2 separate regions of the Homo sapiens genome follow, and region 2 is linked to region 1. The links are contacts of gene promoters, found by promoter capture Hi-C in human tissues and cell types (Jung and others, 2019). All regions are on one chromosome and are shown on one strand. Each heading gives the region's core, a stretch centred on a gene start or on the middle of the fragment in contact. The rest is flanking DNA. Distances are from core to core; before and after follow the strand shown.

The links. Contacts are between HindIII fragments. The study calls those that stand out against the background at their distance.
Region 2: a fragment that was not itself captured here is called in contact with the fragment with the promoter of PCIF1 in region 1 in 1 of the 25 tissues and cell types used here (H1 embryonic stem cells).

The regions. Positions count from the first base shown.
Region 1 is chr20:45,931,587-45,935,932 of GRCh38, reverse strand. It overlaps PCIF1 (phosphorylated CTD interacting factor 1), which reads right to left and starts at 1,250. Exons shown (of 17, transcript NM_022104.4): 1 at 1,129-1,250. LOC107985388 (pre-mRNA-splicing factor cwc22-like) reads left to right here and starts at 862. Exons shown (of 1, transcript NR_171669.1): 1 at 862-2,439. RefSeq lists a silencer at 720-929 and enhancers at 558-1,248, 1,249-1,940, 2,200-2,349, 2,632-3,324. The HindIII fragment of the contact is 7,503 bases long and covers 1-4,346 here.
Region 2 is chr20:45,340,582-45,344,828 of GRCh38, reverse strand. The region is part of intron 1 of SDC4 (syndecan 4); the gene reads left to right. Among named protein-coding and RNA genes, the nearest start is that of SDC4, 5.7 kb to the left of the region's middle. RefSeq lists an enhancer at 1,502-2,396. The HindIII fragment of the contact is 7,626 bases long and covers 1-4,247 here.

The DNA.
Region 1 (4,346 bases), core at 1-2,500:
ATACGCACAAGCGGCACAGCTTAGTGTGAGGCTAAATGGGGACACTGCAGTATTTCCAAAGCCAGCTGTGCATCAGAATCATCTTGGAGTTTGTAAAAAAAAAAAAAAAATCAGACTCCTGTGCCTCACTGCGCATCTCAGAAGCCAGAAATAAATACGGAGGTGAGGCACACAAGAATTTGTATTTTTAAAACGCACCGTAAGAGTGACTGGGAGACAGGATGACTCATTTTTTCACACTATTTGAAAAAATGTACCCATTTTTTGCAATTAAAACCATTTTTAATTTCCTATGTGACTTGAGCGCAGCAGGTCTGTGGCCGAAGTACCAGCCCCTGGGTTGGACAGACCCGGATTCCGGGCCCTTCTGCTTTCCGGCTTATAAACCGGAATCACTCGACCGTTATATGTAGAGTCCAGCATTGTACGCTCCCAGTAAGACATAACTGCTCTTAAGTTAACGTCTTTATTTATCCTGTGGCTTCCCGACCCCCACGCATACCGCAGTTTGAGAATTACCGCTGCTCAAGGATAAACAACTCTATCTGCGCAACCAGAAAAACCCACCAGAAGCCAGAGTCCGAGTCCGGGATTGGAGGCACGTGGGGCGGGACCATCTCCGCAATGTACCAATCAGAATTCTCCGGCCCAGTAGGGAGGAGTCAAAGGGCGAACAAAGTACGCAGGCGCGACGGCGCACGAAGGCGAGAGGCGAGCTCCAGCGCGCGCGCGCGCGCGCACCTTCCCCTCCCCCTACCCCAGCGAGGGTGGGCTGTTTGGCGCGCGCGCGCGCGCCGGCCCATCTCTCGGGCTCCGCCCCCCGCCCCGCCGCGCGCTCCCGCCCCCGGGCTGAGGCGACTCAGAGTCGGAGCCCGACACAAAGGCGGTGGCGGCGGCAGCAGCGGAGGGGCCCTAGAGCCCGCTCCGCTGGGGCTCTCCGGGCCCACCTCCCTCACTTCGGCCACCGGCGCGGCCGCCCACCCGCGGGTCTAAGATGGCGGCGGCAACAGAGACAGGGCAAGCGGCAGTCCCGAGCAGAAAGCGCCGGAGGGGCCGCCGCCCCCCAGCTTCGGATCCCCAGACCCTGGCGCGGCTCGCTGCGGGACCATGGCTTCCTGGGACTCTTACCTGCCCGGAGCGGACTGGAGGGGACGCGGCTACACGTTCTGCTCGACCGCCCGTTTTGCCGCCTCCGCCTCGCCCTCCCCAGCGCCGCTGCCGCCATCTTGTGTCCCGGGCCGGGACTCCGCGCTGCGCATGCGCTGGTACCGCCTCTGAGGGACCTCGCCGCGGCCGCGCCGCCATCTTGAGTGTGGCAGGGTCGGCTGGCTCCTCGCACCCAGCTTGCTTTCGGCCCCCTCCCCTTCTTCCCATCCGTCCCTGCTGTTCCTTGTGGCGCTGAGGAAGGGGAGACAGCTTTGTAGGCCTGCGGGTGGACTGAGGAAGGAATGAATTCACTGGCACGTCCCCGCCTCAGTTTCCCCCTCGAGCACACACGCAGGAGCCGGATGTTCGCGGTGGGCGGTGCGCGGCGGGGTTGGACTGAGCGTGCGCACTGGGGGGCGTGGGGGCTGTCTTAGAACCTGCGGGGGTCTCGGGTTCTGCCGCCGGCCCAGGGGAGGCATCGTGGTGACGTAGGCTCCGGACGTAGCAAGGACCTGGGTCCTGGCACCCGCGCGGCTCTGCCTCTTCCAGCCAGTCTCTTTCCCTCTCTGGGCCTTTGTGCTGCGTGGTGTCCAAATGTTAAGAAGCCCTGCCCCATGCCCGGGCTACATATACATCGAACCCAAGCTGTAAATGCTCTTGAGTAGAAGCAACTTAAACTAGCCTTCGGGGGCAAGTAATAGAGATGGCTTTCGGCAGAGTTGGGAAATCAACTAAATGCATTGTAGGGCCTTTCCAACATTGACATCTGTGGCCATTAGTTGCAGTTCAAAGCCTCACTGAGCCCTCAAACCAGCTACAGCGGGTAGCCTGGCAGGGAACTGGCAGCTGTGAGGTGCTCCTCATCCGGCTCCCTGCAGGATTCTTTTTGGTAGGAGCCTGCAGGCGTCCGAGTGGTAGCTCCACCCATCTCCGGTCTCCCCAGCAAGCATCCCTTCCAGTGCTAGCTTGAGAAGAGGAAAAGCTTGCCACCTGCTGTCAGACCGGCGCTTGTGTGGAGCCAGGGGCTGTAGGTACCCCGGCTGAGTAGCCTCTCAGATGTCCATGGTCCTGGCTGCACGCCAGCGTGGGGGCAGGCAGGCGGACGCTCAAGAAAAACGGAGGCACCGATATGAGTAGTAATTGAGAACGAGGGTTCATGATCCTCATCTGATTTCAATCCCTGCTCCTCCACCCAAAATGTGTGGCCTTGAAGGAGTTAACCAATTTAAATTTTAGTTTCCTCAGTGGAAGATAATAAATCCGCCTACCTCATAAAGGTTTGGTGAGAATTAACTCAGGTGATGCATGTGAAGTCCTCAGCGCAATACCTGGCGCTTCCTAAGTGCTGAATCGGTTAGCCGTGATCATCTCACAGTGGCATGAGCATTGCTCCAAGTAGATTTGAGCCCTCCAGAAATAAGCCAGCTCTATATAGGCACAGCAGTTCTGCCCTCGCAGAGCTTCTCGTTCAGATAAGAGGCCTGATGGGAAACCAGACTCCTGGGTCCTGTCTCAGTTCTGGAAGGGTGGGGGGCCAGCTTTGATTTATGCCTGCTGCCCTGGCATAATTACTAATATTGCCTCCTTTTTCAGAAGTGCCCTGCTTTGGGCCGGGCGTGGTGGCTCACCCCGGTAATCCCAGCACTTTGGGAGGCCGACGCAGGTGGACCACCTGAGGTCAGGAATTCAAGACCAGCCTGGCCAACACGGCGAAACCCCGTCTCTACTAAAATTACAAACATGAGCCAGGCCTGGTGGCGCGCGCCTGTAATCCCAGCTACTCGGGAGGCTGAGGCAGGAGAATCACATGATCCCGGGAGGCAGAGGTTGCAGTGAGTCGAGATCGCGCCACTGCACTCCAGCCTGGGCGACAGAGTGAGACTCCTGTCTCAAAAAAAAGTACTGCTTTGGGCAGTAAACTACGTGGTCGCTCTTGACCTACGGGATAACCAGTTTTCCATGCTCATGCCCCCCAGCTAGCCCGCGCTTTCACTAAAGTTTAAAAACCATGTAGTGATTATTACCCTTTTTTTTTTTTGAGACGAAATCTCGCACTGTCGCCCGGGCTGGATTGCAGTGGCGCGATCTCGGCTCACTACAACCTCTGCCTCCCGGGTTCAAGCAATTCTCCTGCCTCAGCCTCCCAAGTAGCTGGGATTATAGGCACCCGCCACCACTCCCACCTAATTTTATTTGTATTTTTAGTAGAGACGGTGTTTCACGATGTTGGCCAGGCTGGTCTCAAACTCCTGACCTCATGATCCGCCCGCCTCGGCCCCCCAAAGTGCTGGGATTACAGGCGTGAGCCACCGCGCCCGGCCTTTTATCTATTCTTTTATGTTTTCAAAGTATTTTCTCATTCATTGTTCAGATTCTCTTAATTGATAACCAAGATACCAAACATCCCAAGTGCCTAGTCTTCTGTTTTATCATGGAATTCTGTGAATTATTACCTAAATCTGCACATGAGCAAACAGGTTGGAGCGAGGGGCAGGGGCGAAGTCATTGTCCAGGTTCACACAGCCATCAACAAGTAACAAAACTGGGATTTTAAGCCCGGAGTTCTCAACACCAAAATGCAGGGCTGGTTCCATTAAACCACTCTGGCCTCCCTGTTTTGTGAAGAAGGGATCTAGATTCAGGCGATGTGACTGGTCTGAGTGGACACAGTGGCCCTGGATAGTTCAATCTTTTTTTTTTTTTTTTTTTTTGAGACGGAGTTTCGCTCTTGTTGCCCAGGCTGGAGTGCAGTGGTGCAATATCGGCTCACTGCAACCTCCGCCTCTAGGGTTCAGGCGATTCTCCTGCCTCAGCCTCCTGAGTAGCTGGTGTTACAGGCATGCGCCACCACGCCCGGCTAATTTTGTATTTTTAGTAGAGACGGGGTTTCTCCCTGTTGGTCAGGCTGGTCTCGAACTTCCCACCTCAGGTGATCCGCCCACCTCGGCTTCCCAAAGTGCTGGGATTACAGACGTGAGCCACCGCCTCCGGCCTGGATAGTTAAGTATCTTAAAGGTTTCTCTATCTCACAGTGTTCAGCACTGCTTTTCACCTGATACATGCCTCATCTTCTCCGTTTGCTCACTTTCCGCATGTCAAAACCAGCCTCTTCTCAGCTGGGTGCGGTGGCTCACGCCTGTAATCCCAGCACTTTGGGAGGCCAAAGCGGGTGGATCACCTGAGGTCAGCAGTTTGAGACC
Region 2 (4,247 bases), core at 488-2,987, 590 kb after region 1:
CAACTCTAAAATAAGGAGGCTGGACCATTGCCTTCCAAGGGTCCTTCCTGCCCAGAGAGCCCATTGATGAGGGGAGGGGCCCTTTGCTGGCCTCCTTGGTGAAGAGTCTAAACAAATCCCAGTCTCAGAAGAGAAGTTGGGGTGGCGGGGGGACATTCAGCTCCTGCCATCCCCAGCTCCTAGAAACAGAGGGCTTTTCCAAGGACTTGGAGTGCTGAGCCTGCCTGAATGAGGAGCTGGGGAAGCCAGGCTGGGCTCCCAGCCCCATCTCCCTGTTGGGAGAAGTTGGCTCCTAGCTGTCCTTCAACCTCCCGGACTGGACAGGCGAGTGTGATTTCCAAATGAATGCTTAAAATTGGGGTAAGGGGCTGGACCGAGCGCTGTGAGTCACTGCATGCTAGCGTAGCCTGCCTGAGTCACCCATTTCCTTTCAAACTCTTGGCTAATAGGACAGCTCTGTGGTGGGGGTGTTGGAATGAGCTCAGAGTTTTACCTTGTCCTTTGGGAGTCACTGTTTCAGTGTCCGGGGCTCGAGGGGACATACAGGACATGTTTGTACTAGGTCCCGCACTTTCACAGCCCCTTGCCTGCATGTAGACTTTGACATTGTACATTGTGCAGCCAGTCCTCAAAATTGGGCTTTAGACCTCTGCAGAGCAGGTAGTACTTTTTTCCTCTTTAAGGCAAAACTGAGGCTGCAACTGGCCTGCATTTTTTCAGAGAGCAAAAGCTGGTACTGTTCAGGTTTGGTGTGACCCCAGGATTTTCTGATGTTTGTGAGGACTCCTCTTTGCTTCCTGGGGCTGGCCAGAGGGCATTGAAACATTGGCTTGGTGTTACACAGACTTAACTCCAGACGTGCGAAGTCCACCTCTTACTGGCTACATGAATTCAGTCATGCTACTCCACCTCTGAGCCCCAGCCTCCTGGTCTGTTAAGAAGATCATGATACCGGTGTGGCGAAGCTTAAAGGAGACGACAGGGCTGTAAATAAAGGCACCTAGTACCATGCCTGGTAGGGAGGAGGTGTTACTTAGTGACAGTTCCCTTCCTTGCCCAGGCCACCTTCATGCCAGGGGGTCCTATCTCTGAAGATTCTGAGCCCAGGTCTCCTGGAAAGCTTTCTCCATCCCCCTTATCCCCCTTATCTACCCCCACAGCTGGGAGGTGGGAAGGGAGAAATCTAGGGTGGGGCTTTTGGAGTCCAAATCTCCTATTTGTTTATCTTAGAAGTGGGCTGTTTGCTAATTATCGAATGGGTTTATGTTTAAACAAGAACCAGTTCTGGGCAGCCCCACCTCTCCTGCTGGGATTTGCTGGAGCCTCATGCTGAACAGTTTGCAGCCTGGAGGGAGAGGGGGCAGGGGGTTTGCCAAGGGTATCAGACCACTCTGGACACTGTCCAGGACCTGGGGTCACCCTCCTGTGCTGGAGGGGCAGAGTTTCTACCCTTAAGGAGGCTGAGTGATTGCAAATAGCACTTTGAGGGGTGGGGTGTTGGTGGACAGAAAAGGTACAGTGTTCTGAAAAGCCAGTTTCTCGTATGTTTTCACTGCATGGTGCCCTAGAGAGGGAGGAGAGAGAACACATATGTCAACAGTTGGGGTCTCATTTAACCTTAGAAGAATAAGCCTGACTTCTTGGGCTTGTTTGTCATTAACTAACACAGTGGTGACCTTGGGCACATTCTTGCATCTCACTGGGGCCTCTCTGGTCCCATCTGCTGAAGGCTGGGTGACTGAAAAAGAGGGTACAGAAAACTCCAGCCCCCGTCCTAGCTCTGCTGCTCACCCAGGGACACACACAGTTAATACGTCACTTTGTTGATGTGAACTCCAGTGTCCTCTATAAAACACCTGTGGCACTCAAAGGTCATCATCGCTGTTTGGCAAACTTGTAAAGTTCTGGCTTTATTAGCACCTAGACGAGGGTTCTTAACCCGGCCAGAGTTTGGCTTTGGGGAGGTGGTGTCTGTGCATATGTTGAAAATGTAAACTAAGAGTTACAGTTATTGGGGTTTAGACCTTTTTATCCTTTTCAGGGGGCTGCAGTACTCCCCAAAAGGTCACTCTGATCTCAGCAGTTCTTTCTGGCTTTGACCTTTCTACAGCCATCCTTCCTCCCTCCCCCACTTCCCAGCCTTGTTCTTGCCTCCTGCTTCCCCCAACCCCCACCTTCAGCCCAGACCTTCCTATTCAGCGGCCCCCACCCCTTCAGGCTGCATCTCACCCCTCCCCCTGTCCTCCAGGCCCGGGAGCTCGGCTGCTCCAGTTTTCTCTGGCACAGTAGAAGAGGCTGCTGGTCAGGTGACACCTGGGGTAATGGAAAGGGGAGGCAGGGAGAGGCTGGTATGTGTGGAAACAGTGACTTGGTGAAGCCCAGCAGTCAGTGGCCAGGCCTGCGGGGACTGGCGGTGTCACTCTAGCCTCTGGGCGTGGGGGCAGATGTGGCACATGGCTGGCCCGGCTACCCAGAGTGGGGATACTCCTTGCCTTGGAGAAGCCCTGCCGGAGCCGTCTGTGGGACAGACTGACCTGGTCTGGAGGATGGCTTCCTTGGGGGTCGGTGAGGGAGGCTGGGAAGAGGCAGGAAGCCAGCACCCAGGGCTGATCTAATCAGCTGAGATAAGGCTGCAGCGTGGGCTCTCTACTCTGCTCTGAGAACACAGGAGGTTTGTTTACATCCCGAGAGCCTCCCTAGCCCTCGGATCCAGCAGGGATTTCGGATCTGCTGCCTAGATTACAAGCTCCAACTTCAATGCACCTCTGTCTCTGAGGCCCTGAGGGAGCCAGCCCCCTCCTGGCTGTCTCCACCGGTAATCGGAGCAATGCCCAGCTTGGTTACTGGGCTGGGACAGAGGGAGGCTTGTCTCTTTGAGACCTGTCTTTTACAGATTGGAAAACTGAGGCTCAGAGAAGGGAATTGTCCACGATCATCCAGGGAGTTAGTAACAAGGGTGCTGGGTCAGCTCCTGGCAGGGAGACATCCAGAGGCTCCTGAACCCTTCCCCCATTTCTAGCTGGCACCCTAGGATCCTGGAGTTCTTGCTGTGGGAATGGGCTGCCCTGAGGCTTGGTGAAAAGCTGGTTGCAGGCAGTGCCAGGCCTGGCTCTCTCCTGAGTGATTGTGTTCAGAGTAACCCGACCTTGAAGGCGACATTTGAACCCTCACTCCACCCCCACCCCCAGACCTGGTTTAACCATTCAGGCACCAGAGCACCAGACCATGGATTGGTGTGTAGTTTCTTTTTACCTTCTAGATTTTTATTTATTTATTTTGTCCCTGGGGACCCAGGTCCCCAAGTAGAATTTCAGGTGTTTCTGGTCACTGTCATTTGCACCTTCGGGGAAAATAAAAATGGTCTTTACCTCTGTCTGCTTAGGACAGGTGGTCAAAGCTGTGTGACCTTGGGCAGGTCTCTGACTATCTCTGTATCTTTTTTTCACAGTCTGAAGGGACCTGATTGGTTGTTGAAAAGTCTCTGGGCTCAGAAGCAAAATGATAACCTATTATAGATTATATTCCTTTACAGTTTGCAAAGCACCATCTCCCTGTCCCCAGGCTAGCTTCCTTCCAGCAACAGAACTGCCTCTGCAAGTTTTCCCAGGCCTCTGATCCTTTGAGCACTGATCCCACTGGCCAGGAGGAAGGCAGGTAGGGGTTAATCACAGCCACTATTCATTGATCACGTGCTGGGTCCCTTGCACACACAAATGCATTCCTCTTAATCCTCATCACCCTGCAAGGTGCTACCAGCCCTAGTCACAAAAGAGGAAACTGAGGATTTCAGAGATGAAATAAACTCCCAAGCTCATATAGTTAGGAAGTGGCAGAACTCACACTTGTGAATCTGCCTTGATGCACAACCACTCTGGGTGGTAGAGTCACAGTTGTGGGCCCCAGGTTTTAGCCATTCTGGGGAATGTCTGGCCCTTAAGAAGTGGGTGGGGTGGGGAAGAACAGTTACGAGTAGTGTACGCTGCTGGGGGTCTCCTGCTAGAAATCATTCTGGTGGGTCCAGGTGTTGGAGCCCCAGGTACTCACCATCCCCTCTCCCCACTAAATTTGGCTTGCCCAGTTATTACCCTTCTGGTCTTGCCTCCTGAAAGAAGGGTCAAGTGTGTCCCCGACCCTACCTCCCCTGGGGAGGAGCCAGGTCGGGAGAGGCTCTCATTAGTTCACAGTTATCCAAGCCCTGACCCTGAACTCCTCTCTGGTGCCCCAGCCAAGTTTCTGTTCCTTTGTTT